Regions from separate parts of the Homo sapiens genome. Here regions 1, 2, 3 and 4 are each linked to region 5. Evidence: promoter capture Hi-C in 16 types of primary human blood cells and fetal thymus (Javierre and others, 2016). All regions are on one chromosome and are shown on one strand. The core of a region is centred on a gene start or on the middle of the fragment in contact, and the rest is flanking DNA. Distances in the headings are between cores, read along the strand shown.

Evidence for each region. Contacts are between HindIII fragments. The CHiCAGO score rates a contact against its expected background, and 5 or more counts as called.
Region 1: a fragment that was not itself captured here is called in contact with the fragment with the promoter of RPP40 in region 5 in 3 of 17 cell types (non-activated CD4 T cells, naive CD4 T cells and activated CD4 T cells); the score reaches 8.3 in non-activated CD4 T cells.
Region 2: a fragment that was not itself captured here is called in contact with the fragment with the promoter of RPP40 in region 5 in 2 of 17 cell types (non-activated CD4 T cells and total CD8 T cells); the score reaches 9.5 in non-activated CD4 T cells.
Region 3: a contact is called between a fragment that was not itself captured here and the fragment with the promoter of RPP40 in region 5, in 4 of 17 cell types (non-activated CD4 T cells, neutrophils, total CD8 T cells and 1 more). The highest score is 8.9, in non-activated CD4 T cells.
Region 4: a fragment that was not itself captured here is called in contact with the fragment with the promoter of RPP40 in region 5 in 1 of 17 cell types (activated CD4 T cells); the score reaches 5.0 in activated CD4 T cells.

Annotation. Positions count from the first base shown.
Region 1 is chr6:7,586,011-7,588,710 of GRCh38, reverse strand. DSP (desmoplakin) reads right to left here. Exons shown (of 24, transcript NM_004415.4): 24 at 1,997-2,700. Among named protein-coding and RNA genes, the nearest start is that of SNRNP48, 2.8 kb to the left of the region's middle. The HindIII fragment of the contact is 3,159 bases long and covers 1-2,700 here.
Region 2 is chr6:7,390,733-7,393,432 of GRCh38, reverse strand. RIOK1 (RIO kinase 1) reads right to left here. Exons shown (of 17, transcript NM_031480.3): 2 at 130-334. Among named protein-coding and RNA genes, the nearest start is that of RIOK1, 2.3 kb to the right of the region's middle. The HindIII fragment of the contact is 1,019 bases long and covers 920-1,938 here.
Region 3 is chr6:7,311,673-7,314,372 of GRCh38, reverse strand. It overlaps SSR1 (signal sequence receptor subunit 1), which reads left to right and starts at 1,174. Exons shown (of 8, transcript NM_003144.5): 1 at 1,174-1,331. The coding sequence starts at 1,253. RefSeq lists enhancers at 799-858, 869-938, 275-1,141, 1,142-2,010 and silencers at 1,429-1,538, 1,669-1,718. The HindIII fragment of the contact is 2,424 bases long and covers 41-2,464 here.
Region 4 is chr6:7,604,588-7,607,287 of GRCh38, reverse strand. It overlaps SNRNP48 (small nuclear ribonucleoprotein U11/U12 subunit 48), which reads right to left. Exons shown (of 9, transcript NM_152551.4): 7 at 1,802-1,890; 8 at 1,093-1,257. Among named protein-coding and RNA genes, the nearest start is that of SNRNP48, 16 kb to the right of the region's middle. The HindIII fragment of the contact is 3,945 bases long and covers 1-2,700 here.
Region 5 is chr6:5,002,781-5,005,597 of GRCh38, reverse strand. RPP40 (ribonuclease P/MRP subunit p40) reads left to right here and starts at 1,561. Exons shown (of 8, transcript NM_006638.4): 1 at 1,561-1,718. The coding sequence starts at 1,596. LYRM4-AS1 (LYRM4 antisense RNA 1) reads right to left here and starts at 1,782. Exons shown (of 4, transcript NR_126015.1): 1 at 1,639-1,782. RefSeq lists silencers at 1,451-1,580, 1,711-1,960. The HindIII fragment of the contact is 5,117 bases long and covers 1-2,817 here.

The DNA of each region.
Region 1 (2,700 bases), core at 76-2,575, 2.6 Mb before region 5:
GCAGCACCATAAAATACAGAAGTGGCTAGAAGCTGGTAAGAGAGGAGTATGAAGTTAATGTATTCATACTCTGCCTACAGTATCTTTTTTTTTTTTTTTTTGAGACGGAGTCTGGCTCTGCCACCCAGGCTGGAGTGCAGTGGCGCAATCTCAGCTCACTGCAACCTCCATCTCCCGGGTTCAAGCAATTCTTCTGCCACAGCCTCCCGAGTAGCTGGGACTACAGGCACATGCCACCACACCCTGCTAATTTTTCTATTTTTAATAGAGATGGGGTTTCACCATATTGGCCAGGCTGGTCTCGAACTCCTGACCTTGTGATCTGCTCGCCTCAGCCTCCCAAAGTGCTGGGATTACAGACGTGAGCCACCGCGCCCAGCCCGGTATCCTTACTTTTTATTTGCATTTCCATAGTTAGCTGGTTGGTCTGGAAAAATGTGAGACTATTTCTGATGTGACATGACTCCTGATAAAAAGTTCTAGTGTATATTTCCCTGTTTGTATATGTGAACCAAATTAAAACTTAGCCCACGTCAAACATATCCTCTCTTCAGGATACAGCCCCATGTCATCTCAGAGCTTCATGACAACATTGGCACAAGCCTGGAGGGAGTAGGAAAGATTTGTCAATTGACTGTACTCTCTAGTTACTGTTTCAGCCCGAGGAACTGCTCTACACTGATGCTGCTGATCTGTTTTGATATCACTTTCCTGGAGTGGTCTCCAGACTCCTGTTCTAGGCTAGGCCTCTGTTATGGATTGGATTGAGTCCCTCAAAAATGCCTATGTTGAAGTACCAACCCACAATGTGACTGTATAAGGAGATAGAGCCCTAAGAGGTAATTAAAGTTAAATGAGGTCATAAAGGAGGGGTGGGTACTCTAATCAGATAAGACTGATAGCCACCCATGAGCCAGGTTTCACTAGAAACCAGCCCTGCCTGCATCTTGAGCTTGTACTTTTAGCTTCCAGAACTGTGAGAAAATACACTTCCGTTTAAGCCGCTCACAGTCTGTGGCATCTTGTTATGGCAGGGTGAGGTGACTAATATAGTCTCCCAGCTCTAGCATAAGGAATTTCCTTCATTTTTCCCAATACAGCATTTACCACATTTTCTTCTTCCTTTTGGATTATGAGGGCTCTTTTTCACCATGTATTTCTAGCACAGACTCCATGGCTTCTGGCACAATGCATGGCACGCGAACTCAGTATTTAATGCATAAAATTAATTTCAACTCCTCCAAATTAGGAGAGGGAGTAAGGAAGAAGAGGTGAAATAAGGAAGAAAAGAGTGCTGTGGAGGAAAAATAGCCCATGCAATGAGAATGGAGGTGACTTTCACCCTAAGTACCAAAAGCCCCCAATAATTAATCTAATCTTGATTTTTGTTCTATACAATTAGCATGTTTTCCTATTTTCTATCTGTACTATAAAATTTGTATTAATATATACTGCTGACATTTGAAAGTTGTCCCACTGATTGCTTTATCTGTTTCTGTCCCCACCCATATTGCCAATGCTTTGTTGTCGGGGGCTTGTAAATTCTACTCAGTCTTCATAGTACCTAACCCAATACTAGACATGGTGGGTATTCAGTGAAGTCATGTTAATCTAATGACAAATGTGTGAATTTCAGTAGTTTCTCTTTGATCCAAAGGAATAGGCTTATACTTCCTTGTCCTTCAACAGAGAGCCAAGAACTCTTCAGAAATCATTTTCATGGGTTCCAGGACAATTCTTTCCTCTTACGGGACAAAGTGAAACACTATCTATTTTGAGGATACCCAAAAAGCATCTTAGCAACTTCATGTTTTTTCAATGCTATGATGATGACTTTTGCCAATGCTACTTGGTACTCAATGTCCAGAATAAACTAGAACAGGTTATTGACCTCCAGGCTGGCCTCTTTACACAGGCCTTCTTTCCAAGGACTCCATCGGGTACATGACAGGCATCTGAGAAGTACCGAAAGGACTAACTTCAAAAGACCACCTTCTAGTAAGAATTCAGAACCAAATAGTTTTTTAATGGTATTTCTTCACAGGTATTTAGTAAACAAATATTTTTAGACCTATGATAAAAATATGCTAAATGTTTATACATGCTTATAAACATATTAAATTAAAACACAAACACTTCAAAAGTCTAAAAGTTTATTGCCAGAATAGCAAACTTCATAAAGACACCTTAAAGTACATCGAATATGACAAGCAAAATAAACAGAAAACTTTGACCAAAGAAAAGATTGCCGCTGTCATGCACAGTCAAATTAATACCAAACCAAACAAGTACATCGAAGAGTATATGGGTTATACAATCCACACTCTGAAACTAAAGGAGACTCATTCCAAAATGCTTGGTTTTGGGTTGGGGGTTTGAGAGGGGGGCTGGTGCTGGGAGGGTAATTTTCTCCTAATACAGAATATGGAAATATTTAGATGAGAAGCAGAATGACTAAAATATCAGTGATCCATTTAATTTTTATCTCCAAGAATAGAAAACTGTATTATAGGCTTCCAAAATTAAAGAATTGATCAAAAATCGAAACACAGAAGAGAAGAAACAAATCCTAAGTTCGATTTGTGCTATTGTTACAACTGATTAGCACTTCAGACGCACTGCATCCAAGTGTACTGCTTATTTAAGATGAGCTAAGAAGATAAAAAGCCAGAACAGCCTTTACTATTTGATTTCAATCAT
Region 2 (2,700 bases), core at 180-2,679, 2.4 Mb before region 5:
TGAGGCTACAGGACAATATAACATGAAGAAAATCTTTTAGTTATTCAATTTCAGAATCACAAAACAGCCTTTTAAAAAAGTAGACATAAGCAGACTACATAAAGATGTGCAGGATCCTTTATAAAATACCTGTGGGTTGCTTCCTCCATTCCAGACATAACCCTTGGCGAGTTTTCCAACTCCTTCATCCCAGTCCCAGTCATCATCATCATCGTCATAACCCTCCTCCTCCTCATCTTCTATTTCACCTTCACCATTCTCATTCACATTGTCTTGAAGGTCTTCAAACAGAATGTCATCCTTCTCTTTGACTGTCTTCAAGTCTCTGTTTTCACTAGAAATAACAATGTTTTATTATTTCATAACAATATTTCCACATACCCTAACTGATCTCACATATTTATGATGTAAGATATTAAAATATTGATAAATCTAAAAGATTATATATTTATATAAAATACACCTTCCGATAAGCTCCATCTCCTTAAAACCATGTTCTCCTGTTTTCCAGTTCTGTTGCAGTTGTTTGCTCATTCTCCATGCCCAAAGCCTACTATTCAAGAAGCACATCAAGTTAAATCTGCTTCTGCCTTGTTAAAGTTAGAAATTATATTGTTATCTTCTCTGCTGAATAAACAACTCAGACCAGTATACCAGACTTGACTCTAGGAAAATCATTCGCAGAGCTGCTTTAGAAAATCTCTAGGAAAATCTTTCTGTAAAACAAGAAAAAAGAAAGGGGGAAAAAAGGCTGGTGCAGCGGTTCACACCTTTGATCCCAGCTACTCGGGAGGCTGAGGCCATAGGATTGCTTGAGCCCAGGAGTTCACGGCTGCAGTGAGTCATGATCGTGCCACTGTACTCCAGCTTGGGCAACCCTGTCTCTAAAAAAAATTGTAATTAAAAAAAAAAAAAAGCTTTCTGACAAAAAATTTGGGAATAAGTCTAAGGCAGTCTTACTTTGAACTCGATAACACTTTGCAATAAAAGAAGTTACATCAAGATTTGTGTTCCACAAAGAAATCCAAATCATCCCTGTTCATGATGGGAAGAAATGGTGAATACAGGGACCAGGCACTACAAATGAGAGAAGTAGGCTGCACAATAGAAGTGGGGACTGGCAAACTGGGAGAAGAGGTCCAAGGTAAAGGGAGCACAACCAGTAAGGGCTTTTTTTTTTTTTTTTTTTGCCATATTAGAATTCAGGCCTAGTGTTACCAGATCTTAATTTTTCAAGTGAAGCTGTAAGTCTGGATTTCTGTGTAAAATCTATCCCTTCACTGGCATAGTCAATTTTTACAAATAATTGTGCATACCAAACAAAACATGTCTGCAGGCCAAATTCAACAGAGGACTCAGTTTTTACCTCTCATGTACAGAAAAGGACAGAAACCATAAAAAAGCAGCTGATAATATGAGATACCAGCTGAAAAACAGACGAGTTTAAGTAAATTCAGATTATCAATCCCAATTTATTAATTAGCCATGGCTCTGAGGGTTCCCCGTGGACATGTGGAGGAAGAAAACAGACAATCATCAAACACTTGCTACTTACCAGGACTTCATACATATGCTCCACAGATTGATATATAATTGCCTAGAGTGGCATGTTAAAGTTGTAACTTTGCCAGATAATTCTTCGTTGTGGGGGACTGTCTTCTGCACTGTAGGATTTTTAGCAGCATATCTCTGGCCTCTACTTACCAGATGCCACTAATGTACCACCACCCCCAGCTGTGACATACAAAAACGTCTCCAGAAATTGCCAAAAGTCCCCTGGGTAGAAGTCGGGATGGCAACATCTTCCCCAATGGAAAATCACTGGTGTATCCTTACAATACCCTGGGGTGGATGGTAAATTAGTGCCCTCTCATTACCATTAACTACCCACTAGCTATGCTGGCTGTGTTTCTTCTGCTGCTTTTCTTCTCTAAAGCTTTTTGTACACTTCTCCGTAACCATAAAACTGGAATGCCCTTCCTCTTTCTCTGGCTAACCCCTACTCATCCATCAAGTATCAGCTCACTATCACTTGCTCAAGGAAGTCTTCCCTATTTTTCCCCCACTTCTCCTTTGTACTACTTACCCAATTCGAATACAAATAGTCTAATTATTTAATAATATCGGTTTCCCCTGCTAGGGTGCAAGCTCTGTGTCATTCAGGATGGTATTTACCAATGCCTCCCTACCACCTAAGACTAGATCTGACTCACAGAAAGCATTCAACATACATATATTTATTGAAAACATCCCCAATAATTAACAAAATCCGCATGTGATGAATCCTTACTGTAAACATAAAGTACAAGCTGTTTTCTTGGAATTCCAAAATAACTCCAATATGTTTCATTTTGCTTTTAGGCAGGAGTTATCCTTCATCCCTCTTTCCCCAGACTCCACGTCCAGTCTACCACCAAACGCTGCCACTTCTACCTCCAAGACATATCTTTAGGATCTGGGCTCTAGTCCCCACCATCTTTGAATCTGATTACCTTATTATTTTTGAACTGGTCTCTCTGTTCCACTCCCACCCTCCATGAACATCATCTACCTAGAAAGAATGATTCCTTTAAATCACCAAGCAAATAATGTCATTCTTCTGCTAAAATCCCTCCTATGGCTTTCCATAAGACCCACATTAATATCTGAACTTTTCACCATCACTTGTAAAGGTCTCCATGATCTGGCCCCCCTTCTTAC
Region 3 (2,700 bases), core at 3-2,502, 2.3 Mb before region 5:
TTCAAATCTTGCATCTGCCGTTTGCTAGCGTTTTGAAGCTTTGAGTAAATTACTAACCTCTCTGGGTCTGTTTTCTCCTCAGTAAATAATATCCAGCTCATAGAGAGGTTTAGAAAATTAAATGAAAAAGCACAGCTCTAAGGAGGTGATTGACAATAGTAAGCATATGATTTATTTCCTCATCTTTATGACATCTCACTCTGGTCCAGACCAAGATTACTTAATATTCAGATTAATTTCATGAACTGCTATATTACTCCAGCAACTCAAATCCAAAATAGATGAAAAGGAAACTAAAGAAAACTGGACAGCCATTGCTGCACCTATTGTATAGTTACAAATGCTGACTACATACCAAAACACTGTTTAGGTGACTTATAATTCTGGAATGTCACATACGAATTTAAGAATTGCTGGCCAGGCGCAGTGGCTCACACCTGTAATCCCAGCACTTTGAGAGACCCAGGCGGGTGGATCACCTGAGGTCAGGAGTTTGAGATTAGTCTGGCCAACATGGTGAAACCCCCGTCTCCAGTAAAAATACAAAAATTAGCCGGGCGTAGTGGTGCGCGCCTGTAGTCCCAGCTGCTTAGGAGGCTGAGGCGGGAGAATCGCTTGAACCCGGGAGGCGGAGGTTGCGGTGAACAGAGATGGTGCCACTGAACTCTGGCCTGGGCGACAGAGCAAGACTTCGTCTCAAAAATAATAATTTAAGAATTGTCATTACTTAACCATGGGAGAGGGTGTGGGCAGACAGGGGACAAAGATTTTCCACTGTGTATTTTCATGGTTTTTCCTTTGAACAATGTCCTCTCTTCCAACAAAATTTTTTGCTTTTAAGTGCCACATAAAGGCAGCTCATGTTCCTTACATCGCCGTTATCAAGAGGATCGTCATTCAAATAAAGTAACCACTGACAATGCTAATTAATTGGAAGTAAAGAACTGGGCGGAAAGAACGGCTAACCGCAAGCTGCCGGGTCGCAACTGCGGCGGAAGGCGGACTCTCGCGGGAGCCACAAAGAGGCAGCAGCCGGCCACGTGACTTCCCGGTGGCCTGCTCTCCCCACCTCTCCGCGCTGAGCAGCCACGTCGGCGGCGGTCCCTGGTCCAGGGAGGGGCGTGGCAAAGGCCCGTGCGCGGTACGTGTCCCGCCCCTCGCTGCCCGGAGCCCGGATGAAGAGTAACGCCATTACCGCCGGAGCCGCCGAGAGCCTTAGCCGACGGAAACTGGACACTGGACCGGCAGCGCCATGAGACTCCTCCCCCGCTTGCTGCTGCTTCTCTTACTCGTGTTCCCTGCCACTGTCTTGTTCCGAGGCGGCCCCAGAGGTGAGGCTGGGGGAGTGTGCGGAGGGGATGGCCAGGAAGGAGATGCCAGTGATGGCAAGTTTGAAGTTGGAGGCGGTGGCCGCTCCGGGTCCTGGGGTCCGCGTCCACCCCGCTGGCCTCTCTCCGCCCTCTCCCCAAGCCTAGGCTCGTAGCAGCAGGGGTCCCCGCGGGCGCTGGAGACCCCGCTGCGGCCTGCCCCTTGCACGCGGAGCGCGGGGCCGTGCCCGGGCGACCTTGCTTCGTGGCCGGCCGAGGGCTGGGCTTGCTCCTCTTGCCCTGGACCCTCGCCTGCAGGAGCGGCCAGAACTGGAGGGTCCTCGGCTGCAGGAGGAGGCGCTGGACACGGCTGCGCTCCGAGCGCGCCGCAGCCGGGCTGTTTCTTTTGGCCACCTCCGGCTCCGCTCCACCCCCAGCCCCTCGCGCTCAGGGCTGACGTGTCTTTAGCTTCCACGCCGGGAGTCCGTCTTCATTCATTTGCCAAAACCCTTGTTTTCTACACATCTAAGCCATCAGAGTGTCTTGTTCAATGGTCATCTGCCTTGTTCACGCCCTGCTTGACCCGTATGTGTTACTAGGAGGCTTGATTTCAGAAAAACTACCCCATCGTCACCCCCGTTATCCGCCCCTGCTGCCAAGCAGACTGAAGAATCCCTGTGGGATGTCTCCCTTCTGCCTTCTTCCTCTTCTTGTCTTTCCATGGAACAATTTTTTGTTTGTGGAAACATCGTATTGTGCTGAAAAAATGTGGCCTACTTCGAGTGTTTTTAATACATAGATTTATTCTTTCAACAATTAACCCAGCAATTAAGTGTGAAAATAACTTAGCAGAATATAAAAATATGGCAACTTGACTTCCTGCACAGGTTTTGTCGTGAACTTCGACTTTCTAATTTGTAAAGTGAAATAATTAGTCTGACTAAGCATCCCTTTCATTCTGTAAGTTTAAGCAAGCTGTGTGTCTTAACGGTAGTGACAGGTATTCACGAGTTGTTTTGCGATGAAAAGTGAAGTGACTGGCTTCTGTTTAATGGCTAGAAAACCAAGTGGGAGAATTAAACAACTGTTAATGAGTTAATCTGCAGGTTTAACAAGATTTTTTACTTTAGGAGTCGTTTGCTGGTACTCTTTAAGCTTTTTAAAAGAAAACTTGACAAATGTAGTTTTAGTTTTAGAACTATTTATAACTATTTTCAAGTTATAAAAACTTTCAAGAAGCATGAATTCATTATCTAAACTGAATTAATATCTTGTAAACATTTTTTGTGAGAAACGGTTTTTGTGTTTGGTTTTTCCAGTTGAATGAAGACTGTTAGACTTCATGGGGACAAAATTGTTATTGGTTAACATTAAAATAATAAAATTGTTTAAT
Region 4 (2,700 bases), core at 187-2,686, 2.6 Mb before region 5:
GGAGTGCAGGGGTGAGAACACGGCTCACTGCAGCCTCAACCTCTCAGGCTCAAGCAATCTTCCTGCTTCAGCCCCACAAGTGGCTAGGACCACAGGTATGCACCACCACACCCGGCTAATCTTTGTATTCTTTGTAGAGACGAGGTTTTGCCAGGTTGCCCGGGCTGGCCTTGAGCTCCTGAGCTCAAGTGATCACCTGCCTCAGCCTCCCACAGTGTAGGGATTATAGGCATGAGCCACCATGCCAGACCGCCACGGAAGAGTTCTATGAGGTGACTATTCACTCTAGCAGTATACAAGGGAATGGAATCATATGCAGTAAATTTAGAGACAAGTAGAAAAATTAGGAAAATGACCATCATTTCATTAGGAACTGACCAGATGATAAGGAGTGGAAGGAAGTATCTAAAATGACTCCTTGATTTCTGGCTTAGGTTAATAGATGAGAGTCATCTCTTTAACCAGGACAGTAATGCTGGGGAAAGAGGAGCAGATTGAGAAAAAGGTAAGTTTAGTTCTAGACCTGATGAACTTGAGATCCAGGTACATGCCTTGTAAGCAGCTGGACTACAGAAATAGACCTCAAATGATTTACATTTACTAATTCGGTATTAATTCACATCTCTCAAGCTATCAAAATTTTACTAACAAAGGCAAAATTGACTGTCAAAATTTAGATGTTCTCTCTGACCCTACATACCCTTATTTGAGGAATTAGCAGGAAAAAGAAAGAAAGAATAAGAGAAAGAGGAAGGAAGGAATGAGCAGAAGAAAGGGATCTGGGAAAACCGTGTTTAACAGTTAATGTCCTGCCTAGACAATACTTTCATATGTCCTGTTTAGGAAGCAAGCAAGTAAGAGATAAAAAAGGGAAAAAAACATCCAATCACGCATGTAGAGATCTATGTCACTAGAGTGGTGGTTATTTGAACTGAACTATAATGAATGTTAAGAATCATCGTCAATTGTTTACTCTCCTTACTTTAGCTTATTCTTAAAATCTATTTTCTCAGCATGGTCTACAACAGAAGAACCTGTTCTATTTTTAAAAAGTACAGAATTCAACGTTGGATGATGCAGGGTTAGACCCACCTCTCTTTCCTTCTTCTCGACTCACAGTTTTTATCCTTATCTTTGTTTCTTTTTCTTTTATGTGGGCTTCTACTCCTATCCCTTCTATGTCGTGAACACTCAGCATCCAAATAGCTTCCACCAGACTGCCGTGAATCTACTGAAGCTGATCGCCTTTCTTCATTCCTAAAACACAGAAAAGAATGTTAATCAGTTTGTGTTACCACTGGTCTCCAGTATACGTACACAGACACACCAGTCTAAAGTGTAATATTCTATATCAAACCAATGGTAGATATGGTCTAAATATGCACAATCTTATAACCCATATAAAAGGACAAATAAACACAGCTCTTAACCCATTTATGCCTGAGGTTGCAATTTTTTTAATTTTTGCAATGAGACCTTGGCGATGACCTTGAGCAGTAGGACATAAATAACTCCCACATGCTTGGTGTTCCCATAATGGAATACTAGGCATAAATGTTAGTATGTTTTGCTATTTGAATATTTCACTAATATGGCTATCCCCTGAAAACTGTCAAAGGGTAATGTCAGAACAACTCTGGTACAATAACCCTGGGCACTGACAACGAAAAACAAAAAGCATTTTCACGAGTTTACTGTGTGCTATCAAGGGTTTTGGAAATGCTAAAATTTAACAATTATAAGTTAATTGTTATCTGTTATCAAAGAGAGAGTATTTTCACCAATAAAGATAATGACGTACTTTTCGGCATCATCCTCTGCCTTCTCTTGCTCTTCTTGCCAATGATTGCTGAGTTCTTCCATGTGCACATTTATCACATCTCGAATCACCTTGGGAGAGGTAAGCACCGAACTTCAGGTAAGAAAACTGCTCAAAAAATTAAGACTGTAACGCTAGAAAAATCAGTGCTAACAATCAAATATTTACTAAGTGCTATGACATAATTGACTGTGGGACTTGTGCAGTTTAGAGAACACAGAAAAGGCAATGGTCAAACTGGAATATGAATAGTAGATAAAAGTTTTACAGCAATATTAAATTTGAAGTTGCTATAACTGTACTACCTTTATGTGAGAAAATATCTCTGTTCTTAGGAAATACATACTGGGGATAAAGGGTTATGAGGTATGTAATTTAACCCTTAAAGAATTCAGGGGAAAAAAATATGTACAGATCGAGATCGAGAGAGTGAAAAATGTGCAGAGAGAGAGAGAGAGAGTGCCAATGAGAAGCTATGTGGCAAAATGCTAACAATGGGTGATCTGGGTAAAGACAATATGGGAGTTCTTGGTACTATTTTTAGTTTTGCAATTTATCTCTCTATTAGAGCTTATTTACAAATGATTTTTTTAAAACCTTATAATTAAGTCATCTTGACTTAATCATATGACTTAATAAGACAAAATATGAAACATACAGTCACTTCACAGATACTTTCTGAATGACTCTATAAAGAAACTTTCAAATAGGTAAAAACCACTTGAAAGTTTTTCCTTTCCTATTTACCCATGCCACCAAGCACAGGGTTAGTCACTGCAGAGGCAAAGACAAAACTAAAATAGGAGTTTACACTTCCCTCATGATTAAATAGAAAATGTTTTCAGAAAAAAGGTATAGGGGACACGGGGCAATCTCAGAAA
Region 5 (2,817 bases), core at 312-2,811:
CAGCCTCTTGAGTAGCTGGGATTACAGGCATGCGCCACCACACCCTGTTAATTTTTGTATTTTTAGTAGAAAGCGTTTCACCATGTTGGCCAGGGTGGTCTTGAACTCCTGACCTCAGGCGATCTGCTCGCCTCGGCCTCCCAAATTGCTGGGACTACAGGCGTGAGCCACAGCACTCAGCCAGATTACCGATGTTTTTAGTGGCAGATGACTTTCCGGCCTTGTCTTAGTTTTAATTTTTTTTTTTGAGATGGGGTCTTACTATATTGTCCAGGGTGGTCGTGAACTTCTGAGTTCAAGTGATCCTCCCACCTCAGCCTCCCAAAGTGCTGGGACTACAGGCGTGAGCCACTGTGCTCGGCCAGATTACTGATGTTTATAATGGCAGATGACTTTCCAGCCTTGTCTTAGTTTTATTTTTATTTTTGGAGATGGGGTCTCACTATATTGCCCAGGCTGGTCTTGAACTCCTAAGCTCAAGTGATCCTCCCACCTCAGCCTCCCAAAGTGCTGGGATTACAGGCATGACCCACTGTGACTGGCTTAGTTTTAAATTCTTAATTATTTACCTTGTAAACTACTTAATTCCATTTCTTCCACATCTCATAGAAAAACTGATGTTCCAGGAAGATGTATCACCAATATTCTGCTGTTTTGTATCCTGCCAGTGCAGAATTGGGGCTGTGCCTCTCTAGTTTGAGAAGCATGTAGTAACATACTTGATTTTGCCCTGATCAGTAACGTACCGCATGCTGGGAGCCGCAGTCTCTTAACCGCTCCAAGCCCGTGACAGAAAAACGAAATGGAAAAATGACTTAGGAGAATTATCACTATTAACCCCCAGAAACAACACATTATTAAAAGCGGTTCTGAAGGGCTATTTAAAAGGGAACTCAATAGTAGTTTCAAAGGAGTCCTATTGTAAGGCAAAAATTGTGCTTTACCTTCCCGCACAACCTTCCCTAATGTTTTGGGAAGGACTGATACAAACTTTTAGTCCTGTTGGCCTGTGTTAATAATGGCCAAGAGGTCCCCAATGGGTAACAGAGTCCTGTGAACCAAACAGTGTGAGAAGTCAGAAAGCAGCTGGGTGTGGCCCCCAAAGCAGCTTAGGGGGTTACTTAACTGTGCGGCTACATTTCTTGACCATATACTAAAGGAACTGGGCCTTTCCATGCGATGTTTTCCTTTTATAACGGTGGCAGGAAGCGGTCCCTCTGAGGGGCCTGACCGAGGTATGCGCCGGCGCCAGGCTGGGGTCCAAGGGGCGCTCCGAGGCGGGGCCCACAGAGAGGGTTTAGGGCAATTCCAAGGGATGGCGGGGACGGAGGAAAAGTGGCGTTGAAAAGGCAAGAGCCAGGTTCCCAGCCACTGGGACAGTGAATTTACAGCTTCAGACATCCACCAAAGAGCGGCTGCGTGGGCTCCTAAGAAGTCTAAGAACTGCTCAGAAATCCAGCGCCGCCATCCCCACTCCACCGCCGCCAGGGGCGCACAGCAGCGGGTATGCGGCCGGAGGGAAGGGGCGGGGCGGGAGGAAGGGGCGGGGCGTGCCCCGCCAGCGGAGGCCGGGAGGACCAGGAACCCAGGAGAGCATGGCCACGCTGCGCCGGCTTCGGGAGGCGCCGCGGCACTTACTGGTTTGCGAGAAATCCAACTTCGGCAACCACAAGTCGCGCCACCGGCATCTTGTGCAGACGCACTACTATAACTACAGGGTGAGTCCGGCTGTCCTCGGCTTTTCGGGCCGTGCTCAGTCCCCGCGTGCGAGAGAGGTTTGGGGAGAGTGCTAGGCTTCGCGGGGCGGGGCCGCCGGCGGTACGCGGAGGGGCGGGGCCCTCGCCCGGCTTGCTGGGAGTTGTAGTCTCTTAACTGCTCTAAGCCAGTGGCTTGCAGGGCTACAGGACTACAACTCCCAGGATGCGCCGGGCGTGGGGGCGGTACCCAGTCTGGAGGGAGCTGTTGTCAGGGGCGTTCTGGCTGCTCACTCGTGTCAACCCGCCGAACTGGGAGTGAGTCCAGGGAGGGATTCGAGGTTCAGGGCCGGGACCAGGGAGTTAGGCTGTGGGGCAGCCACGTGCACCTCGCTTTTTCCCCAAATCAGGGCGGGTCTCGCGCCTCCTCCCCACCACTGCCTCCTCCCCAGCTTGAATCCCTCTCCCACCTGCGTACCTGTGGATCTCACCAGAGCATCCTGCCTAGGCTCGGCCCAGGAAGCGACTGATTTTCCTTTTTTTTTTTTTTTTTTTTTTAGACGGAGTTTCGCTCTGTCGCCCAGGCTGGAGTGCAGTGGCGCGATCTCGGCTCACTGCAGGCTCCGCCTCCCGGGTTCACGCCATTCTCCTGCCTCAGCCTCCCGTGTAGCTGGGTCTACAGGCGCGCGCCACCACGCCCGGCTAATTTTTGTATTTTTAGTAGAGACGAGGTTTCACCGTGTTAGCCAGGATGGTCTCGATCTCCTGACCTCGTGATCCGCCCGTCTCGGCCTCCCAAAGTGCTGGGATTACAGGCGTGAGCCACCGCGCCCGGCCGAAGCGACTGATTTTCTAAATTGGTTGTTGGAACTAATTTGATATCTGAGAGACTTCAAGAAACTAACCTTATCATGGGGGATTAAACATTTTACACTTTAAATGGATCAGCTTAATAACTCAGGTTTGACTGAGCAGTGTTTCAGAGATGTTAAGTGGTGACCTGATCAGTCAGAACAGGCTGGTGTTTGAGCCTTGGGACAGTGATGACTTTTACAATGTGGCAACATTTGAAGCCTGCCCTGTTTTTAACACCTATTTTGGATGTCAAGCTCATCACAGCAGT